7 separate regions of the Homo sapiens genome follow, and regions 2, 3, 4, 5, 6 and 7 are each linked to region 1. The links are contacts of gene promoters, found by promoter capture Hi-C in blood cells and fetal thymus (Javierre and others, 2016). All regions are on one chromosome and are shown on one strand. Each heading gives the region's core, a stretch centred on a gene start or on the middle of the fragment in contact. The rest is flanking DNA. Distances are from core to core; before and after follow the strand shown.

The links. The method cuts DNA at HindIII sites, captures the fragments that hold promoters and counts their contacts. A CHiCAGO score of 5 or more calls a contact.
Region 2: a fragment that was not itself captured here is called in contact with the fragment with the promoter of MON1B in region 1 in 1 of 17 cell types (neutrophils); the score reaches 8.0 in neutrophils.
Region 3: a contact is called between a fragment that was not itself captured here and the fragment with the promoter of MON1B in region 1, in 1 of 17 cell types (neutrophils). The highest score is 8.5, in neutrophils.
Region 4: a fragment that was not itself captured here is called in contact with the fragment with the promoter of MON1B in region 1 in 1 of 17 cell types (neutrophils); the score reaches 5.3 in neutrophils.
Region 5: a contact is called between a fragment that was not itself captured here and the fragment with the promoter of MON1B in region 1, in 1 of 17 cell types (neutrophils). The highest score is 5.7, in neutrophils.
Region 6: the fragment with the promoter of ZNRF1 here is called in contact with the fragment with the promoter of MON1B in region 1 in 1 of 17 cell types (neutrophils); the score reaches 11.0 in neutrophils.
Region 7: a fragment that was not itself captured here is called in contact with the fragment with the promoter of MON1B in region 1 in 1 of 17 cell types (total B cells); the score reaches 5.6 in total B cells.

The regions. Positions count from the first base shown.
Region 1 is chr16:77,189,540-77,192,625 of GRCh38, forward strand. MON1B (MON1 vesicular trafficking associated B) reads left to right here and starts at 1,651. Exons shown (of 6, transcript NM_014940.4): 1 at 1,651-1,719; 2 at 1,937-2,094. The coding sequence starts at 1,947. It overlaps LOC124903725, which reads right to left and starts at 1,027. Exons shown (of 1, transcript XM_047435021.1): 1 at 369-1,027. The coding sequence starts at 1,027. The coding sequence ends at 683. RefSeq lists enhancers at 1,369-2,317, 1,443-1,732, 1,753-1,802. The HindIII fragment of the contact is 24,724 bases long and covers 1-3,086 here.
Region 2 is chr16:74,595,892-74,598,977 of GRCh38, forward strand. The region is part of intron 1 of GLG1 (golgi glycoprotein 1); the gene reads right to left. Among named protein-coding and RNA genes, the nearest start is that of GLG1, 9.7 kb to the right of the region's middle. The HindIII fragment of the contact is 9,477 bases long and covers 1-3,086 here.
Region 3 is chr16:74,656,791-74,659,876 of GRCh38, forward strand. All of the region lies in intron 2 of RFWD3 (ring finger and WD repeat domain 3), which reads right to left. Among named protein-coding and RNA genes, the nearest start is that of RFWD3, 8.5 kb to the right of the region's middle. The HindIII fragment of the contact is 3,732 bases long and covers 1-3,086 here.
Region 4 is chr16:74,689,613-74,692,698 of GRCh38, forward strand. It overlaps MLKL (mixed lineage kinase domain like pseudokinase), which reads right to left. Exons shown (of 11, transcript NM_152649.4): 3 at 2,730-2,804; 4 at 1,665-1,851. Among named protein-coding and RNA genes, the nearest start is that of MLKL, 9.7 kb to the right of the region's middle. The HindIII fragment of the contact is 2,074 bases long and covers 392-2,465 here.
Region 5 is chr16:74,970,347-74,973,432 of GRCh38, forward strand. The region is part of intron 1 of WDR59 (WD repeat domain 59); the gene reads right to left. Among named protein-coding and RNA genes, the nearest start is that of WDR59, 13 kb to the right of the region's middle. The HindIII fragment of the contact is 5,982 bases long and covers 1-3,086 here.
Region 6 is chr16:74,997,774-75,000,859 of GRCh38, forward strand. ZNRF1 (zinc and ring finger 1) reads left to right here and starts at 1,251. Exons shown (of 5, transcript NM_032268.5): 1 at 1,251-2,322. The coding sequence starts at 1,899. RefSeq lists silencers at 1,043-1,562, 1,963-2,272 and an enhancer at 3,063-3,086. The HindIII fragment of the contact is 6,289 bases long and covers 1-3,086 here.
Region 7 is chr16:75,016,659-75,019,744 of GRCh38, forward strand. All of the region lies in intron 1 of ZNRF1 (zinc and ring finger 1), which reads left to right. Among named protein-coding and RNA genes, the nearest start is that of ZNRF1, 19 kb to the left of the region's middle. The HindIII fragment of the contact is 199 bases long and covers 1,323-1,521 here.

The sequences.
Region 1 (3,086 bases), core at 401-2,900:
AATGGTTTAGCATCATCCTCTTGGTGACAGTGACTGAGGGAGTTATTGCGAGATCTGGTTGTTTAAAGTGTGTAGCCCTGGGCTGGGCATGATGGCTCACTCCTGTAATCCCAGCAATTTGGGAAGCTGAGGCGGGTGAATCACCTGAGGTCGGGAGTTCAAGACCAGCCTGGCCAACATGGCGAAACCCCATGTCTACTAAAAATACAAAAATTAGCCGGACGTGGTGGCGGGCACCTGTAATCCCAGCTACTCCAGAGGCTGAGGCAGGAGAATTGCTTGAACCCGGGAGACGGAGGCTGCAATGAGTCAATAACATTTTGCCATTGCACTCCAGCCTGGGTAACACAGCGAGATTAATAAATAAGTTTGCTTATGAGATGTTATTTTATTGTACTTTTTTACATGTTTATTATATATTATATACTTCTAAATGTATTAGGTAAATATATTTTGTATGCACATAAATTTATCCATTGTTTCTGTTATATAAATTTAATATTTATTACTTATCGATTACCTATTGTATATAAAGCACATGATGCTACACTGGTATTTGGAATTCATTACCCTAACTATACTGTAATTAAAATAATTATCCTAACTAGTACCAAAGGCTTCCCCTTAGCAATCACTCGAAGTGTGCCAGCACCTCCACTCACTTCACGTCAAGCGATTCCCATCATTGTTTCACTGATGGAGAAACCAAGGCCCAGGGCACTTGGGGCAAGGCGTTCAGGGGGCTTTCGGTCCGGAAGCAGCGTCGGGGCGGGAATTCGAACCCTGGGTTCCCACACTGGCCCGTGGCAGGGCCCCCAAGCCTTTTCCCAAACTGATCACAGAAAGTGACGACCCGTTCGCCCGGCGGACCGGGGGCGTCGGGCAGGTCCTGGTCCAAGTGAGTGCCCGCCCCTGCCCTGGGCTGGCAGAGTTCTTCCCCCAGCTGCAGGTAGACGTGGGAACCCGGCAGGGTACGGAGCTGCTGGCGCGGCACGCTGATTAGAAGCGGCGACTGCCCGTCAAGCATTCGCGCCTCTCCCCTCCCTTGACTTTCTTGGCAGGGTTAAGGGATAAGAGAAAGTGGAGTTGCCTCAGTTCTGGGAGAGCCCGTTTGTGGGTCCGGCACAGGTATCCATCGGGACTGACGCTGCAAAAGTCCTCTTGTGAAACAAGGAATAGGCTCGAGTCTTCGATTGGGTCGAGGGAGACGTCAATCAATGGATGGGCGTGTGCAAACGCAACACAACGCACAGTATTGGTTAGGATTTGGCGGGGGGAGTAGACAGCGGGGAAATGAGGCGGCTCATCTCGATTGGCCCAGAAAGAAGACGGTCGCGCCCTATGTACTCCGGGATTGGCTAGAGCGAGCCGCGTCCCCCCTCACGCCAACCACTGGTAAGCGAAGTGGGCCTCGCTCTCCCGGGTTAGCAGCCGTAGCCAGATCCGTTGAAAGGAGTGCAGAGAGGTCTCATTGCGCTCCCGAACAGACCTGACGTAGATCCGAAGTGGCCCGCGCCATCTCAACTATGAGGGGACACCCGTAGGCGGCGGGAGAGGGACGCCGCGAGGAGCCAATAAAGCTCCGCAACCGGAAGTGTCTTCTGGGAGGGGTCGTACCCGGAAGTGTGGCACCTCCCGGGCCGCACCCGGAAGTGTGATGCCACCGCCGCTACGGGGAAGTAATGGTATCCGGCCAATTGAGATTCGGAGTTAAAACAGGTGTTTGTATATCTCTATTTCCTGAGGCCCAGTAGAGTCTCCTCTTTTCGGAAAGTGTTGGAGGGGGGACGTATTTGGGCATGATTTTGGATGTCTCGTCCTATTGAAATCCGTGGGGAAATGAGCAGTAGGAGTGTGTCCAAGGGGGCCTGACTCTATAAAGGCTTTTCAGAAGTTTCTTTCACCGCCCGTCACCCTCGATTCCCCTCCCACTCAGGGATGTGCAGATGGAGGTCGGAGGAGACACTGCTGCCCCGGCCCCCGGGGGCGCGGAGGACTTGGAGGACACGCAGTTCCCCAGTGAGGAAGCTAGAGAAGGTGGAGGGGTTCACGCGGTCCCGCCGGATCCCGAAGACGAGGGCCTGGAGGAAACAGGTATGACTCCACTTAGTGGGGTCTTAAAAGGAATCCTTAGGGGTTGTCATTGTTGGACGGGGGAAGGGTCAGTGGGTGACCAGTAGGGAGTCTTGGGACTTAAGAGAAGTGGCTTAAACCATCGCCGGGTCAGGAGGAGGTCACTGTGGACACATGGTGTAGTTTACATCATTGAGGAAGTCATTGGCTGTCAACGGATGTTCACTGGGGGTTTGGTGTGAGTTTAGGTCATTGAGGAATCAAAAAGGGGGCTGTTAGGACCAAAGAGGGTCACTGAGGATTTAGAGTGTTTAGATCAAAGAATGCGCTGAAGAAAGTCAATAGACTCAACAGAGGAGGACTGTTGAGAAGTTAGTGTTTTTGAGGAGTAGGGTGTTATTTATTAAATAATAGAAGTGGGAAGGGGAATCAGTGGAGTTCGATGGGCACTCAGAGTATTTACATCATTGAAGTCACTTGTAGACTGTTGGGGAAGTCTTTAAGGGACCAAATGTTAGTGGATGTGTAAAGTTGTTCATTTGAGATTTAATGGAAGTCACTGAGAAGTCTGTGCCATTGATCACTTTGGAATTAGTGGATGTAAATGGAGTCATTGGGAAGGATCAGTGGACCTCACTGAGAATAAATGTGGATGGGGAGGTTGAGGACTTGGGAATTAATAGCAGGTAAGAGCAGTTATTAGGAGGGAGTAAAGATATTTGGGGACATGGGAGTGTCAGTGAATGTCAGTGACAGAATATGCAATTATTGGGATTTTATGGGAAAATTATTGAGACATAGTTGCACATGGATAATAATGGTTGTCATTGGGGGATGAATGGAAATCAATGGGAATAAATGGATGTGTCAGTAGGGGCTGTTGAAGTTGTGGGTTTTAGTGAATGTTAATGATGGTCATGGGTAGGGGCAATGGAAGTCATTAAAGTCTTGTGTGTTAGTGGATATTATGATGGTTACTGTAGGGAGGGGAGTGGATACCAATGAGATTGAAG
Region 2 (3,086 bases), core at 350-2,849, 2.6 Mb before region 1:
GGCGGGTGGATCACCTGAGGTCAGGAGTTCGAGATCAGCCTGGCCAACATGGCGAAACCCCATCTCTATTAAAAATATAAAATTTGCCAGCCATGGTGCCACATGCCCATAGTCGCAGCCACTCGGGAGGCTGAGGCAGGAGAATTGCTCGAACCTGAGAGGCAGAGGTTGCCCCTTATACGTGAAAGTGGAGTTTTCCTTTGATAGGCAGTATTCCAAATTTGGCAGAACTTAATTCCTTTACCCAGAGGATTTACCCCTTCAAAGTGTACACATTTTGAGATCATGCCACTGCCCTCCAGCCTGGGCAACAGAGCGAGACTCTGTCTCAAAAAAAGAAAAAAAATTTATTGTGGGCTGGGCGTGGTTGCTAATGCCTGTAATCCCAGCACTTTGGGGGGCTAAGGCAGGTGGATCACCTGAGGTCAGCAGTTCGAGACAAGCCTGGCCAACATGGTCAAACCCCTTCTCTACTAAAAATACAAAAATTAGCCAGAAGTGGTGGCGTGTGCCTGTAAACCCAGCTACTCGGGAAGCTGAGGCAGGAGAATTGCTTGAACTCGGGAGGCAGAGGTTGCAGTGAGCCAAGATCGTGCCATTGCACTCCAGCCTGGGCCACAAGAGACTCCACCTCAAAAAAAAAATTATTGTGATATTATGCATCCTTTTGGTACTAAATCTTCAAAATCAAATGTGTATTTTATACTTACAGCACATCTCAATTCAAACAGGCCATGTTTCAACTGTTCACTAGCTGCACGTGGCTGATGACTACCACAGTAGACAGTGCAGTCCTAGGTTACTTATGCTTTAGGGACAGGGGGGAAAATGAGCTATCACACAGCTGGACTGACTTGTTTTCAAATCTTGATTCCACTACTTACAAGCCCTGAGGCAAGCTATTTAGAATCAGTTTTCTCACTAAAAATAATAGGATGTAATAGGCTGGGTACAGTGGCACATGCCTATAATTCCAGCACTCTGGGAGGCCAAGGCAGGAGGACTGCTTGAACTCAGGAGTTGGAGACCAGCCTGGACAACAGAGTGAGACCTCATCTCTACAAAAAAAAACAACTTTTAAAATTAACCGAGTATGGTTACTACTAAGGAGGAGATACTCAGGAGGCTGAGGTGGGATGATCACTCGTGCTCGGGAGGCAGAGGCTGCAGTGAATCATGATCATGCCACTGCACTGCAGCCTGGGCAAGAGAGTGAGACCTCGTCTCAAACAAACAAAAAAAAAACCCAAAACAAAACTCACCAGGCACAGTGGCTCACGCCTGTAATCCCAGCACTTTGGGAGGCCGAGGCGGGAGGATCACCAGGTCAAGAGATCAAGACCAGCATGTCCAACATGGCGAAACCCCGTCTCTAGTAAAAATACAAAAATTACCTGGGCGTGGTGGGGTGCGCCTATAGTCCCAGCTACTCAGGAGGCTGAGGCAGGAGAATCGCTTGAACCAGGGAGGCTGAGGTTGCAGTGAGCTGACATCATGCCACTGCCCTCCAGCCTGGATGACAGAGTGAGACTCCATCTCAAAAAAAAAAAAAAAGAAAGAAAAAAGAAAAAAAAAGCTCCGGTGATAGATGGTGGTGCAAGCAGATCACCTGAGGTCAGGAGTTCAAGACCAGCATAGCCAACATGGCGAAATCCTGCCTCTACTAAAAAAACAAAAATTAGCCGGGCGCAGTGGCTCACGCCTGTAATCCCAACACTTTGGGAGGCCGAAGCTGGCGGATAACGAGGTCAGGAGATTGAGACCATCCTGACTAACACAGTGAAATCCCATCTCTACTAAAAAATACAAAAAATTAGCCGGGCATGGTGGCGGGCGCCTGTAGTCCCAGCTACTCGGGAGGCTGAAGCAGGAGAATGGCGTGAACCCGGGAGGTGGAGCTTGCAGTGAGCTGAGATCGCACCACTGCACTCCAGCCTGGGTGACAAAGTGAGACTGCCTCAAAAAAAAAAAAAAAAAAGCTGGACATGGTGGTGTGTACCTGTAGTCCTAGCTACTCATGAGGCTGAGGCAGGAGAATCGCTTGAACCCGGGAGCCAGAGATTACAGTGAGCTGAGATCACACCACTGCACTCCAGCCTGGGCGTCAAGAGCAAGACTCTGTCTCGAAAACAAAATCAAACAAACAAAATCAATAAGAATGATAATAATAAAACATCTCTCATAAGATTAAATGAGATAACGCCTAGAAAGCATCCAGTCCCTCAGAACAGGGCACACAGAAAACCCTCAGTAAATGCTAACCATTATAAGTAGCAGTAGTATACTTGAACACTGAGCAGTGTCTTGCACACAGGTTTCAATAAATGTTTGCTGAAAGAAGAAAAATTGGTCGGGCGCGGTGGCTCACGCCTGTAATCCCAGCACTTTGGGAGGCCAAGGCGGGCGGATCACGAGGTCAAGAGATCAAGACCATCCTGGCCAACATGGTGAAACCCCGTCTCTACTAAAAATACAAAAAATTAGCCGGGCGTGGTGGCGGGCGCCTGTAGTCCCAGCTACTCGGGAGGCTGAGGAAGGAGAATCACTTGAACCCAGGAGGTGGAGGTTGCAGTGAGCCGAGATCGCGCCACTGCACTCTAGCTTGGTGACAGAATGAGACTCCATCTCAAAAAAAAAAAGAAAAAAGAAAGAAGAAAAATTAATTTACATGATAGCCTATAAGCCATTTTAACTGCTGCTTTTAAAAATATATAAATAAGGCCGGGCGCGGTGGCTCACGTCTGTAATCCCAACACTTTGGGAGACTGAGGTGGGTGGATTGCCTGAGGTCAGGAGTTTGAGACCACCCTGGTCAACATGGTGAAACCTCGTCTCTACAAAAATTAGCCGGGTGTGCTGGCAAGTGCCTATAATCCCAGCTACTCGGGAGGCTGAGGCAGGAGAATGGCTTGAACCCGAGAGGTGGAGGTTGCAGTGAGTCGAGATCATTCCACTTCACTCCAGCCTGAGCAAGAGCGAAACTCCACCTCAAAACAACAACAACAAATATATAAATATATATATATATAACTTATATAAAGAGGAGATTTTTGTTATTGTTCCTGAGTAAATTTGTTTTGAACACA
Region 3 (3,086 bases), core at 203-2,702, 2.5 Mb before region 1:
ATGATTCATGGGAGGAGGCCAAAATATCAACATTATCAGGAATTTAGAAGAAGTTGATGTCAACTCTTATGGATGACTTTTGCCGGGCTCAAGACTTCAGTTAAGAAAGTAACTGCAGATGTGCTAGAAACAGCAAGAGAACTAGACTTAGAAGATGTGACTGAATTGATCTCATTCCTAGATTTTCCTTTCCTTCTTATTGGTTAGTTTATTGCTTATCCCACTGAATATCCATTACCTCAGGCAGGCCCCAGGGAAAATGATTTAGGCTTTTCACACTCTGCATTGCTCAGAGTCAAGAGTAGTCTTGCAAATGGGGTTTTCCAGAGAACCACCAACAGGTCATATAAAGATAATTCTCTGGGAATGAGGCTTTGAAGGTGCTCCAATCCCTCTGGTGCCTGCCAGGCTGTTGGTTTTTACTATGATTACAGGCAGATGCTTTTCACAACTATCAAGGAGCTGGAGAAGGTGACAAGAATAAGGAATGCCATAGAGCTCAATGAGATTCGGCTGTTTTTCTTTAATAATCACTCCCTGGATTGCTATAAGCATTTGGTCAGTTTCCTGAATTATGAAAAAGTTGATCCTGACAAATTCTGCCAGTTGTTTCACTACTTCCATGGAGATAATTCTCTGTGGTCCTTACTCTGCCATTTTCACTGACATCACCCAGGTTTTCTTTTTCTTTTTTTTTTTTTTTGAGACGGAGTCTCGCTCTGCGGCCCAGGCTGGAGTGTAGTGGCGCAATCTCGGCTCACTGCAACATCCACCTCCCGGGTTCAAGCGATTCTCCTGCCTCAGTCTCCTGAGCAGCTGGGATTATGGGCACCCGCCACCACACCCGACTAATTTTTGTATTTTTAGTAGACAGGGTTTCACCATGTTGGCCAGGCTGGTCTCGAACTCGTGACCTCAGGTGATTCGCCTGCCTCAGCCTCCCAAAATGCTGCGATTACAGGTGTGAGCCACTGCGCCTAGCCAGGTTTTCTTTTTAGACAGTGCTAAGCAAGTTTACCAACTCCATTTCTTGAGATTCTAAGTGAACAGCAGCTATAGCTACCATGAGACTAAACACATAAGAAAAGCATTTCATAAGAAGATTTAATCAAATACATACTAGAGTTAGGGTGTTGACACGTATATCAATAGAATTCTACATAGAACCCAGTAAAAAAGTGATAGACGATTAAAAAAAATCACTCTTTAATATTGCTTTTATGTAGCAAAGAATTTCCAAAGTCAGGCAAGAACACAGGAAAGGGGAACTGTGAAAACCAACAGGAAGCAGTGCTAGGGTTTCTCTTTGGGAGCACAGATTTAGAACCCAAGAAATTCTCCTCCTTCCCTGCACTTACCAACTTTGAATTTTGCTCCTTCCCTACTCTCTGTAGTCCTAGACTCCGTATGCTCCAGGAAAACAATATTGTGATCTGTGTTATTCACCAATATATCTAGGGCAAAGTTTAGTCTCTCACACAGAGGAGTGTTATCAATATTTGATGAATGAGTGATGACCCCCACTGCCAGAATGAAACCGCCCCAAACAAATCAGAAAGGAGTTTGTGACCTCAGCTAAGCCTGTTGGGAAGAATAAGCTCACTACTTAGCTTTCCATAGCTTTGGCTTCTTGGCTGACTGTGAGTCAAAAGCTGTTCACCTTGGCCCAGGCTTTCAACACCTGGCCCAGGGACAGTCTGTCAGATGAGTAAATGTCAAACACCACACTGAGAAATTCATCTCAAGAAATTCAGAAGTTATAAGCGATTAGTCCTGGGAAAGGTCATACTTCAGGGAAAAAAGTTTTAATCACATTTACCTGGCTCCAGAACTGATGTAATTTCCACTGAACTGCACACTTCCTGACCGTTTAGGTTATTCCCTTTGTGGAGACAGATTATGGCTGCCAAATAGCTTGACTGACATCTTTCAACATTTAAATTCTGTATAACTCATTCCCTGAGCAGATTCTATAATTTTTTTTTTTTTTTTTTGAGACAGAGAGTCACTCTTGTCACCCAGGCTGGATTACAGTGACAAGATCTTGGCTCACTGCAAGCTCCGCCTCCTAGGTTCAAGGAATTCTCATGCCTTAACCTCCCAAGTAGCTGGGACCACAGGTGTGTGCCACCACGCCCGGCTAATTTTTTGTATTTTTAGTAGAGATGGGGTTTCACCATGTTGGCCTCGAACTCCTGGCCTAAAGGGATCCGCCTGCCTTGGCCGCTCAAAGTTCTGAGATTACAGGCGTGAGCCACTATGCCCAGCCACATCAAGCAATTTTCTCACTAGAGTTTGGCTTCTGTTTGGCTCTCTAGTGGTTCTGTTTTTCTTTGTAAGTTGGCATCTGGTTTATAAGTGTCACCCTTAAGTTGGTTAATACAAGTCACTGTGCTTGACCAAGAGGAATCCACTCTGCGTCCCCCAACAAGAATGAGTGCATGGATAAGCAAGACTGAGGACTTGCAAGAGGCCTCCTGACAGTCAGCCAGCTCCTGGAAACACCACTCACAACTCTCAACCATGGAAAGTTAGCCCATTTACTTTGGGAGGGTCCCCAAATTACACCATAAGGTGCCTTCACCTATAACACAAATGTATGAAATCTTACCCTGCCTTTATAACGTGAGTAATGACATCTTAAAACAACAGACTATAGCCAAGCCTGCTGGTGCACGCCTGCAATCCCAGCTACTTAGGAGGCTGAGGCACAAGAATCGCTTGAACCCGGGAGCCAGAGGTCCTGGTGAGCTGATACTGCGCCACTGCACTCCAGCCTGAGTGACAGAGCAAGACTCTTGTCTTAAAAACAAAAAAAAAACCCAGAGTAATATGCATTTGCAACTCTTGTCAACACAGAACTAGGCATCTGTCATCCTTGATGGGCACTACAGACACTGGAGCCACAGTCATGGCAAGCCCCAACATTAAAATCAGCAGGATCCATGAAAAAGAATGCTGAATCCAGATACAGAAGGCACAATTCCAATTCCAGCCTTATCACAACCAAATCACAAATTATCCCATCAGCTTCCTCATTTGTAAAACATGGGTAATAGATGACCTAGCTACCACTTTTTAGTATC
Region 4 (3,086 bases), core at 179-2,678, 2.5 Mb before region 1:
TTCTTTACCAGATATCGAAATTTACTGCAAAGTCATATGAAAAAAACAGTAACAGTGTGTTACTGGTACAAAAACAGACAAATTGATCAGTGGGAAAGATTAGACAGATCAGAGTCAGATCTATGTCTATATAAAAACTTAATATACAATAAATATGGTACCACAAATCAACAGGGAAAAGACAGACGACTTAATAGATGGTATAGAGAAAACTGACTTACTATGTGGCTAAAAATAAAAGTTGACCCTACATAACGTCACATACAAAGGTGGATTCTAGTAGGATTAAAACCTAAATATAAAAAATAAAACTGGAAAGTTAAGAGAGGAAAATATAGAATGCCTTTAAGATCTAGAGGTGGAGCAGGACACCTCCAGAGCACAAATAAAAAGCTTGCAATGTCTAAAGCTGACAAGTGCTTTATTTCCACAATATACAAAGATTTACAAACAGACAAGACAAAAGCAGCAACCGTGATGGAAAAAAGGGCAGAGGATATGAACAGGCAATTTATGGAAGAGAAAACCCAAATAACTAAAACATGTAAATAAGGGCTTGAATTCATTAGTAAAAACAGAAATGCAAGTTCAAATAACTACAAGATATTGATCACTTTATAACTATAAAGATGAAAGTAATCAGAAAGCTGGATAACACTAAGGGTTGGTGAGGTTGCTTGTGGGAGTGTAGGCATAGACACTGTTCTGAAGAGTTGCCTGGTAGTACTTAGTCACTTAATATACACATATCCCATGGCCCATCATTTTCTCTCCTGGTGCTATATCCTGAAGGATTCTTATACAGGTCCCTAAAGGGAAACTAAGTATGGCATCTTTTTGGTGGGGAAAAGTTGGAAGCTGACTAGGTTCCATCACTGGAAAAAAAAAGAGACAAAATATATGGCTCACGCCTGTTATCCCAACATTTTGGAAGGCTGAGGCAGAAGGCGCTTGAGTCCAGGAGTTCCAGACAAGCCTGGGCAGCACAGTGGGTCCCTGTCTCTACAAAAAATTTAAATATTAGACAAGAATGGTGGTGCACACCTGCAGTCCCAGCTACTTGGGAGGCTGAGGTGTGAGGATTGCTGGAGCCCAGGAGGTTAAGGCTGCAATGAGCTATGATCTCACCACTGCACTCCAGCCTGGACAACAGAGTGAGACCTTGTCTCAAAAAAAAAAAAAAAAAAAAAAAAAAAAAGGCAAAATGTGGATCTTCACCATGGATGGCAGACAGAAATTAAGGAGTCCAGATATGGAACACGTTTCATGATGTTGAGTGAAAAAAGTGAGGAAAGGAGGCAACAGACACGTAACTCTACCAGTTGTGAACATGAAAAATGTATGCATACATTTTACAAGAACACATACAAACAAAACACACTAGAACTACTGTCTGTGGAGGGGATGAGCAACTGGGAAACAAGGTTGGAAGGGAAAGTTGTTTTTTTTTTTTAAATATATATGTGGACAAAGGAGAGAAGACCTAGAACTGAGGTGGAAAGATGTATTTAAGTCAAGACTCTGCTCCTTAACAGTGGAGAGCACATAATTTAACCCTTTAGGGCCCAGGCTTCCTCATCTAAAAATGGAGACGATATCCCTCTCTCCTTGGAGAGTTAGAGTAAGTATTGGTACACACGAGAGAACCACACAAAACAACTTACGCAATGCTGCCAGCCTGGAGTTTTTTGAATACTTTTATGGCCACTGGAGCTCTGTGGTATTCTCCTTTATAAAGTGTGCTGACTTCATTTTCCCTTAGCAGAATCCACGGGGATCCTGAAAGCTGCTCCTTCTTGATCTCCTTGATTTGCTCTTGCGGGATCTCCTGCATGCATTTTGGTGGTAAATCTGACCTCACCCCCGAGAGGAAAGAAGACAAAAGAGTCAATGAGCAGAGGAAGGGGTCCTAAGGGAGGTGGCATATTTGTGATGTGTGAGTGGGAAGCTCTACTACATGAACCAGAGCTGGTGGTGGCTGGGGCTTCTGATGGACTCAGCCCAAGGGAGCGGCTCCCGTGCCTCTGAGTGACCAGTAGAGACACAGCTGGACAGTTAACAGAATGTGTCATCCACTTCCTTTCCCTCCTCTTCAAATCCCGCCTGTCCCTCCAGCCTTAACCCTCATCCAGACTCATCTCTCTCATCCTGGAAGGATGTCTATTCCTGTTACCCAGAGCTTGGCACTTGAGCATCTGGCATCTGGCGTAGTCATTTCAGATCTAGTAGTTAGGGACATAGTTCAAGCTCAGTAACCTTGCTGTTGTGTGTTCACTGTCTGTCTTTCCTCTTTCCTCCTCCACCCCGTGAGCTCCTGGAAGGCAGTGTCCTTCTCTGCATCTTAGTTACCTCTTTGCATGGCCTCTGGCATAAACCAGATACTCACAGTTTTGTTGAATGAATGAATGAGTGGGCATTTTAAATTTGATTTGAATTTCTTCTTGGAAATTCAGCAACTGAACTGAAGCTTTGATTCTATTCATAGAGGTTTTTAAGTACTTTGACAGCTGCTAGAAGGTATCTTACTGGTCAAGAAGCTCTCTCCACATGTTATTCCATGGACAGAAGCCTGGGCTAGCCATGAATGGATCCCCAAACCTGTGGGCTGCTTCCAGCCATCCAGCACAGAAAATGGACAAATGCAGGGGTAGCGGGAGGCTGGGGTCCCAGTAAACTGATGACTTCTAGTTTGGGGGCCATCAGAAACAGCAGGGCACATGATAACTTACACTGCCTCAAAGTTTCCTTGATTTCTTTCATGTTGATTTCTAATCGTCTCAGTGAAGCTTCTATTTTTTCATTATCTGCAGGAAAAAAGGGCAGTATATGCTCAAAATAGATATTAAAATCACACGCCAATCAAAACTAAAATGCTAATTAAAACTGTTGAGATATCATTTTTTACCTATCATATTCATTATGGTAGGGATTACTACTGATCACCAATATTCAGATTTCTACTTCTGAGCACATAGGAAATGCATTAAAGCATGGCTGGGTAACTTGCTTTGGCTAAGAAATGAAGAAAAGAGATGTCTGTCACTTCCCAGAGGGAGCATTTAACTGACTCTGCATAAGGTTCCAAC
Region 5 (3,086 bases), core at 294-2,793, 2.2 Mb before region 1:
CACTTAATTCTACTTATCTTCTAAGTCCCAAGACATACCTCCCCTAAGAAGCTCTCCCAGAATGGCATGAACCCAGGAGGCGGAGCTTGCAGTGAGCCAAGATGCGCCACTGCACTCCAGCCTGGGTGACAGAGAGAGACTCTGTCTCCAAAAAAAAAAAAAAAAAAAAAAAAAAAAAAAAGCAGCTCTCCCAAGGACCTCTCTAAGCAGGTTCCACCTTTTCCGAAAGCACTTTCTCTGCCCCTGCATCACAGAACTTGCCACAGCTTGCTGTGTTTAGTTATTGCTATACACATCTTTCTTCTCCCACTAGCTGATGAGCCCCTGCTGAGCATGGTCTATTTCATTTCTCCCAGAGCACCCAGCAAGTTGCTTTGTACACAGAGGTGCTCTGTAAAACTCTGTAGTATGAAAGATGGTTGCAGCTGGGCATGGTGGTGCACACCTATAATCCCAGGACTTTGGGAAGCCAACGCAGGAGGATTGCTTGGAGCCCAGGAGTTCGAGACCAGCCTGGACAACATGATTAAACCACACCTTTTAAAAAAAAAAAAAATTAGCCAGGAATGGTGTATGCACTTGTACTCCCAGCTACTTGGGGGGCTGAGGGGAGGATAACTTGAGCCCGAGAGGTTGTGGCTACAATGAGCAATGTTCACACCACTACACTCCTGGCTAAACGACAAAGCAAGACCCTGTCTAAAAAAAAAGCCAAAAAAAAGATGGTAGGTCAGAACCAAGTCAAAATCAAGGTCCTTCCAGCTCACAATGTGCCAAGGTGTTCCTCGACATCTCTGAGAATATTTTTGGTGGTTTCTCTTGATAATTCCCCTTAATAATTTATCACCCACGAGTTTATCTAAACTTTTAAAGTTCATTCGTTTCGTTAATACCTCCTAGGACAATAAACTTCAATAGCTCACTGCATGCTGTGTGAGACGTTCTATTAGAATAATGTGATGAACAAAATTTTGTTTCTGACAGTGGTCCCAAAAAAAAGAGAAAAAAAAGATTTGTGTACCTTACCCATACACTTTATACTGTAAAATTTTCATCAGTTTTCCTTCCTTCTTTCCTTCCTTTTTTTTTTTTTTTTTTTTTTTTGAGATGGAGTCTTGCTCTGTCACCCAGGCTGGAGTGCAGTGGCGCAATCTCGGCTCACTGCAACCTCTGCCTCCTGAGTTCAAGCAATTCTCCCGCCTCAGCCTCCTGAGTAGCTGGGATTACAAGTACCTGTCACCGTGCCTGGCTGTTTTTTGTATTTTTAATAGAGATGGGGTTTCACCATGTCGGCCAGGCTGGTCTCGAACTACTGACCTTAAGTGATCCACCTGCCTGGGCCTCCCAAAGTGCAGGGATTACAGGTGTGAGCCACAGCACCCAGCCTCTAAGAAAGTGTCTCACTCTGTCGCCAAGGCTGGAGTGCAGTGGTACTCACTGTAACCCCAAACTTCTGGGCTCAAGTGATTAACCTGCCTCAGGCTCCCAAGTAACTGGGACTACAGATGCACACCACCACACCCGGCTAATTTTAAAATTTTGTGTAGAGATGGGGGGTCGCTATGTAGCCCAGTCTGGTGTTGAACTCCTGGGTTCAAGCAATCTTCCTGCCTCAGCCTCCCAAGGGGCTAGGGTTATGGGCATGTGCCACCATGCCCAGCCAAACTCTTGCTTTTCCATACTGAAAAGTCCTCCTCAATTGTAGGAAAACAAACTTATTGTCCAGGACTGCTCTCTATCAAAACAGGTATCTTTAAACAGAAGAGAATGAAGTTCTTAGAAGTCTTTGTTCCTTCAACTGCAAAGAAGGATGGTGACTTTTGGCACACTTAACACTTTAGGATTTACATGCCCTTTATGAAATGAGAATTGATGGTGATATTTGATTCTGATTCTCTTGGAGTAAATATAATAATTTGGAAACGTCAAGCTAACTGATGGCTAATGAAGGAAATCAATTCCATGAGACTCTATTAGACTACAAATTGCTGCTGTCCTCGTTTAAAAAATTTCTTGGTGAGTCAACTTCCAAAGGCAACAGTGTTCTGAAGCACTTGGTTTCAGCAATCCAAAGCAACAGACCACAATTTATCAAAGGGAGGAAAAACTCTGCCCTTTCTCCAGGCATAAAATGGAGGTAGCCTGGTGCAGCAGAAACGGTATGCATCGGCTTTGCAGTCAGAATTAGATTAAAACTCATGTCTAGGCCAGGCACGGTGGCTCACACCTGTAATCTCAGCACGATGGGAGGCCAAGGTGGGTGGATCATTTCAGGTTAGGAGTTTGAGACCAGCCTGGCCAACATGGCTACTAAAAATACAAAAATTAGCCAGGCGTGGTGGCGCACACCTGTAATCCCAGCTACTCAGGAGGCTGAGGCACAAGATTCACTTGAAACCTGGGAGATGGAGATTGCAGTGAGCCGAGATGGAGCCACTGCATTCCAGCCTGGGTGACAGAGCAGGACTCTGTCTTAAAAAAAAAAAAAAAAAAAAAAAAAAAAGAGGTTTTACAGACTAAAGCCACAAACTGAAAACCACTGATTATTAAAAGGGTCCGACCATTTCAGAGGACAAGATCCAATTTCTATTCAAATTAGATATTGGCCAGGCACGGTCGCTCACGCCTGTAATCCCAGCACTTTGGGAGGCCGAGGCGGGCAGATCACCTGAGGTCTGAGGTCGGGAGTTTGAGACCAGCCTGACCAACAAGGAGAAACCCCATCTCTACTAAAAACACAAAAAATTAGCCAGGTGTTGTGGCGCATGCTTGTAATCCCAGCTACTCAGAAGACTAAGGCAGGAGAATCGCTTGAACCCGGGAGGTAGAGGTTGCAGTGAGCCAAGATTGCGCCATTGCACTCCAGCCTGAGCAACAAGAGCAAAACTCTGTCTCAAAAACCATAAAATTATACATGAACACTGCTGCCAAAGCTGGTTTGTTGTTTTGCTTTTTAGATTGGGGTTGGCGGGGGGGCCGGTCTCTCTCCATCACCCCAGCTGGAGCACAGTGGCGTTGCAGCCTCAAACTCCTGGGCTCAAGCAATTCTCCTGCCTCAGCCTCCTGAGTAAATGGTACCACAGGCA
Region 6 (3,086 bases), core at 1-2,500, 2.2 Mb before region 1:
AGCCTGGGAGGAGCAAGGCTCCGTCTCAAAAAAAAAAAAAAAGAAAAGAAAAAAAAGAAAAAGAAAAACAGGGCGGGCGCGGTGGCTCATGCCTGTAATCCTAACACTTTGGGAGGCCAAGGCAGGTGGATTACCTGAGGTCAGGAGTTCAAGACCAGCCTGGCCAATACGGTGAAACCCCGCCTCTACTAAAAATACAAAAAATTAGCCAGGTGCAGTGTGGCATGTGCCTGTAATCCCAGCTACTCGGGAGGCTGAGGCAGGAGAATCACTTGAATCCGGGAGGCGGAGGTTGCGGTGAGCCGAGGTTACGCCACACCACTCCAGCCTGGGTGACAGGGCGAGATTACGTCTCAAAAACAAAAACAAAACAAAACAAAAAAAACAGTTGTTCAATAAATGAATGTGAATATAGGAGAAAGACGGCTTGAGGTAGCAAAGGAACACTCCCTTGCAAATGATTCAGGCTTGGTCAACAATACACCTATTGAGTACCCACCGTGTCCTTGGCCCGTGGTGAGGGCCGAAACACAGCACATGGTAAACAAAACAGGGCTCCAGCCTTGGACAGAAGGTTTCTATAATCACTTCTAGCTGCGTTGTTCTATTTCCATACCCATATCTATTCACTTTTTATGGTACATCTATTGATTCTGAAAATTACATTTTAGCTAAGGAATCTACTCATTTGCTTAAGCCCAAAATAGGAAGTTATGATCTAGTGTCAGCAAAACGCCGGATTCACAAGTGTCCCCATGGCGCTGTTTACCCCCAAATAACTAAACCCCGCCAAATGTTGAGATTCCGGACGTGAGGGGTGCTTGGATGGGGAACCCCCGAAAGAATGGACATCACGTCCACCAGAGGGTGCTGTGGGGGCAAATTTGTGCCAGGAGGGGAGCTCGACCGGTGACCCTCAGAGCCAGGTAGGCGTAAGGAGTAAATCTCCTTCTTCCCGGTGTTTCCTTCCCACCCCCTCGAACCATTGCTGCCCCTCCCCCATACTTGGTTCCCCCTGAATAATTTGCCACTTTCGGGGACTTAAGAAGTGTTTGCTTTTGAAAGACATCTGGTTTCTGTGGCTAACGCCCAGTGGTCAGGCCGCCCAGGTCACAGGCCGGCCGGGGGCGGGCGGTGGGTGGGGACTGCTGGGGCGTCAGCGGCCCAGGCGCCGCAGGGACCGCGAAAGGGTTAACCCGGCGGGGGGAGGGGGAGGGGGCGCGGGCCGCGCCTGCGCTCTGCCGCCCTCCATTGTCTCCACGGCGGCGAGGAGCGCCGGCGAGCGCAGCCCGGGACCGAGCGGGGCGGCGCGGCTGGCGGGGCCGGCGGCGGCTGAAGCGAGAGCGCGACGCGACGCGACCGCGGCTTCCCGAGCTGCGCCTGGCCGCCCAGCGCCGCGGCCCGCCCGAGGCCTGGAGGGGTCCGGGCCGCCGTCCATGGTCGCGGCGTCCTGAGGCGGGGGACGCGCCCGGCGCCCCCGGCCCTCCTCCGCCTCCTCCCGCGGGGCGGGCGGCCTCCTCCGGCGCCTCCCCGCGCCCGCCCGCCGCTCGCCGCCGCCTCCCTCCCTCCTTCCCTGCGGCTCCCCCGGCTTTCGGAGCCCGGGGGCGGCCTGTGGCGCGCGGAGCCCGCGCCGGACTGCGCCTCTTTGGACCTTGAGGGGAAACATGCGTTTGCCTTGGATCGTTTGAAATTCTGAGTTTGGGATCCCCGCCCGCCCGCCTGCCTCTTCCGCCCCGCGGGTTTTTTCCTTTTTTCCTTTTGCTTTTTTTCCTTTTCTCCCTCCGGGTCTCCTTTTTGACTCCCTCCCCCTTTATGCTCGCCCAGCCCTCCCCCTGCTGCTGAGAAGTGGGGGAGGGTCTCGGCCTCCAGGTTCCCGCCCCACCGGGGCCCGGGCGAGCATGGGGGGCAAGCAGAGCACGGCGGCCCGCTCCCGGGGCCCCTTCCCGGGGGTCTCCACCGATGACAGCGCCGTGCCGCCGCCGGGAGGGGCGCCCCATTTCGGGCACTACCGGACGGGCGGCGGGGCCATGGGGCTGCGCAGCCGCTCGGTCAGCTCGGTGGCAGGCATGGGCATGGACCCCAGCACGGCCGGGGGGGTGCCCTTTGGCCTCTACACCCCCGCCTCCCGGGGCACCGGCGACTCCGAGAGGGCGCCCGGCGGCGGAGGGTCTGCGTCCGACTCCACCTATGCCCATGGCAATGGTTACCAGGAGACGGGCGGCGGTCACCATAGAGACGGGATGCTGTACCTGGGCTCCCGAGCCTCGCTGGCGGATGCTCTACCTCTGCACATCGCACCCAGGTGGTTCAGCTCGCATAGTGGTGAGTCCGCGGGTGGTGGAGGCCTCGGAGGGAGGGCGCGCCGGGGCGCCCCAAGCCTTCGCGTGCGTGCCAAGGTTTGGGAATGTAGTGCACGACCGGGATCTGTCTGCATTCCCTTTGGTTCCCGATGCCAAGGGATAAATGGGATACCTACCGTCTGGAAACTAGGCTTTCTGCGAGGCTGCGGAGCCTGGCGATTTAGGGACTCACGGCGTGTGTTCACTTGTGGAAGGGCAGAGCGAAGCCTACCTATTGGAGTTCCATTTATTGGCATCACCCTCCTCAGAGAAGAGGTCGTGTCTGGCTGAGAGCAAGTCAGCCTGGGTACTTCCATTCTGCCACTGCAGCACTGTGCCTGCCTCACCGGTAACGGAGAGATGGAGCCAGTTGGAGCAAGCAGTGTCTCCTAAACAGAGTGTGTGAAAATGAAATAAAATCAGGGGCAAGTGATGCCTGGATTAGGGCTCTCACTCTTGCTGGGAGAGAGAGGTGCCCAGTTTTGCCACCCTGCTGGAGATCTGTTTGAAATGTTTAAAATGGAGCAGCCGGCAGGCGGCTGGCATAGACAGGTGTGGCTGCTGTACGGAGGGCCCAGCCGGCGAGTCTCGCGGGGGCTTTGCAGGACCCGGGCTGTGGTCACCCGTACTGCATGCAGCAGGCTTGGCTCCGCGACTCTCGCCTCCCTCCATCTTTTTTTCTTCTGCTCCATGCTAAGTGCTTGGTCTTCCCGTGAATCTGCATCTTTTTGTAACAGGGAGCCTGTC
Region 7 (3,086 bases), core at 172-2,671, 2.2 Mb before region 1:
CAGAGTAGCTGGGACTACAGGCGTCTGTCACCATGCCTGGCTTTTTTTTTTTTTTTTTTTTGTATGAGTAGAGATGGGGTTTCACCATGTTGGTCAGGCTGGTCTCGAACTCCTGACCTCAGGTGATTCACCTGCCTCGGCCTCCCAGAGTGCTGGGATTACAGGCGTGAGCCACCGCGGCCGGCCTACTGTTTTATTTACTATCGTTTTGTAATAGGTCTTGCTACATGGAAGGGCAAAACTGTGTTGGCTAACTGAATCTTTCTAAGGGACAAATAAGGGAATCCAGATAGAATAAACACAGTGAAGTACAGAGTACCAGGAACTGCTCTGTTTAAAGCTGGTATTCTTTTTTAATGATAGGACATCTGGCAAACCCACCCTAATGGGCAGTTTCATTTTTTTCCCTACTATATTGCACAAACAATAACATTTCCTGATGTCTTTGTATTGCAAACAGCAGAGTAAACAGTTCTGTATGTTACAGACAACAACAGTAAAAACAACAAAAACTGGTTAGCTATTTTTGGCACTTTGTGCTTCCAGATAAATTTTAGAATCAGCTTTGTTAACTTTCTGTGAGGAGAAAAAACTGTTAGGATATTTATTAGAATTAAATTGAGTTTATCAATAAGCCATTTTTGTAAATTTGGGCTTATCCATGAATCTGATAGAATTGATTTACAGATATAAAAATAAAAATTTTAAACATTTTATTTACATTTAAAATTTTTGGAAATAATTTCAGACTTACAGAAAAGTTGCAGAACTTATACAAATAAATATTACATATCCATCTCCCAGAATTCTCAAAGGTTATCAGAAAGATAAATCATTGACATCCATTATGTTCTTGAGTCTGGAAAGCAGCTTAAGATCTTAATAAATACAACTTTTCAAGTTTAAGAAATCTATATTGATCTGCTCCTGGGAATTGGAGAGCCATGTGATCTTAAAAGTGACATGGTGTCACTTAGACTAGGCCTAAAACTGAGATCTCCTTTAATCATTGTTGGTCTGTATCCTTATGTGAACAGAAATAAATCCACTGCCACTCTCTGCTCCCAAGGTGCTTGGATCCAATCTGTTGAAAGAAGGGCTTCTTAGACAGTTGTAGGGTAGATAATTCAAATCAAGTTGGCATCAGGATGACACAAGAATGGCTTCTGGAAGTTTGGCTCAGCTGAGCCAGAGATGCCTTTATTGGAGGAATGGGACACCCTCTCTTGGGAGAGACAGTATAGGGTAGTAGTTAAGGTCACAGGCTTGGCACCAGACTGTCTTTGGTGTGAATCCCAGTGTTGCTAATTTTTGGTTTTGGAAGCTTGGGCAAGTGACCTAACAACCTGTGCCTTAATTTCTTTACCTCTAAAGTGAAGCTAACAATAATAACAGTGTCTATCATATAGGACTCATATGAATCAAATGAGTTTGTAGCATATCCACATCACTCACAACAGTGCCCAGCAGGTAGTAAGTGATCAGTAATGTAAGCTGTTAATATTTAATGTCACTGGATAAAGCTTTATGATTTTTTTGAAGATCTTGAATTCCTTTTGTTAGGATACCCTATAGTTTTGGTCCTTACTGTTAATAGTAGCTTTTAAAATTGTTTATAATTGTTTCGGGTTTCTTGTTATGCTCTTGTAGGTTTCATAGTTTTAATGAGAAATATCGACAGAAAATTCAGAGAATCACACCCTTTGCAAATAATGACTGTTTTGTTTCCTCTTTTGTAATCCTCTTTTGTGTTACTTTTCTTTCTTATTTTAAGATTGCTGGCTAGTTCCTCCAGTAAAAATCGTATTAGAATCTATGATCATGGGAATCCTTATTTTTCTCCTGCTTTTTTTTAAAGGGAATGTTTCCTGCTTTTGGAAGCATCACATATGTTTTTGGTATATTGCCTTTATTCTCTTTTATTCCTACTTTGCTAAATTATCACAAACAGCAATTTTATCAACAGTTTTCCTTGTATTTATTCAGATGATCATCTGGGCTTTCTCCTTTCAGTTGTAAATGATTTGAATTATGTTAATAGATTTTCTAATGTTAAATTATCCTTATATTCTTGAAATTAATCCTGCTTGGTTGTGATGTATTTTTTTAATACATTTCCAGATTTAATACGTTAATATTCTCCTTTGGATTTTTGCACATATGTCATAAAATTTCACTCATAATTTTGTTATACTGTCTTTTTCTTCTCTTACTAAGATTAATAAGGCAAGGCTTGGTGGCTCACGCCTGTAATCCCAGCACTTTGGGAGGCTGAGGCAGGCGGATCATTTGAGTTCAGGAGTTCAAGACCAGCCTGGCTAACATGATGAAACCCTGTCTCTACTGAAAATATAAAAGTTAGCCGGGCGTGGTGGCGCGTGACTGTAATCCCAGCTACTCAGGAGGTTGAGGCAGGATGACTGCTTGAACCCAGGAGGCGGAGGTTGCAGTGAGCTGAGATGGTGTCACTGCATTCCAGCCTGGGAGACAGAGTGAGACGTCTCAAAAAACAAACAAAAAGATTAATATAGCTTTTTTTTTGGTAGAGACTACTATGGGTTTTTTTTTTGTAGAGACTACTGTGTTGCTCAGGCTGGTCGTGAACTCCCAGTCTCAAGCGATCTTCTCACCTTGGCCTCCCAAAGTGCTGAGAGTACAGGTATGAGTCACCATGCCTGGACAAAATACAGCTTTTTATTTATTTTCTTGAGACAGGGTCTTCCCATGCTGGAGTGCAAAGACATAACTGTAGTATTTTCAAATTTTTTTTAAGTTGGCCTCTAACTTAATTGCATGATAATCACAGAACAGTCTGTATGATACTGATTGTTTCGTTTTTATTTATACTTAATTTGTGGCATACTACACAGTCAGTTTTCATAAATATTTCATTTGTACTTTAGAAGTTTGTATAACAACTGTTGGGTGAGGGGGTTGGGGAACGCAGAAAAATAAAAATGTTGGGTGAAGTTTTATTCTGTATGTCCTTACATCAAGCTTATCAGTTATGTTGTCCAAATCTTCCATATTTTACCAACTTTTGATTTTTGTTTTGTTCTGTTTTGTTTTGTTTGTTTGTTTGTTGA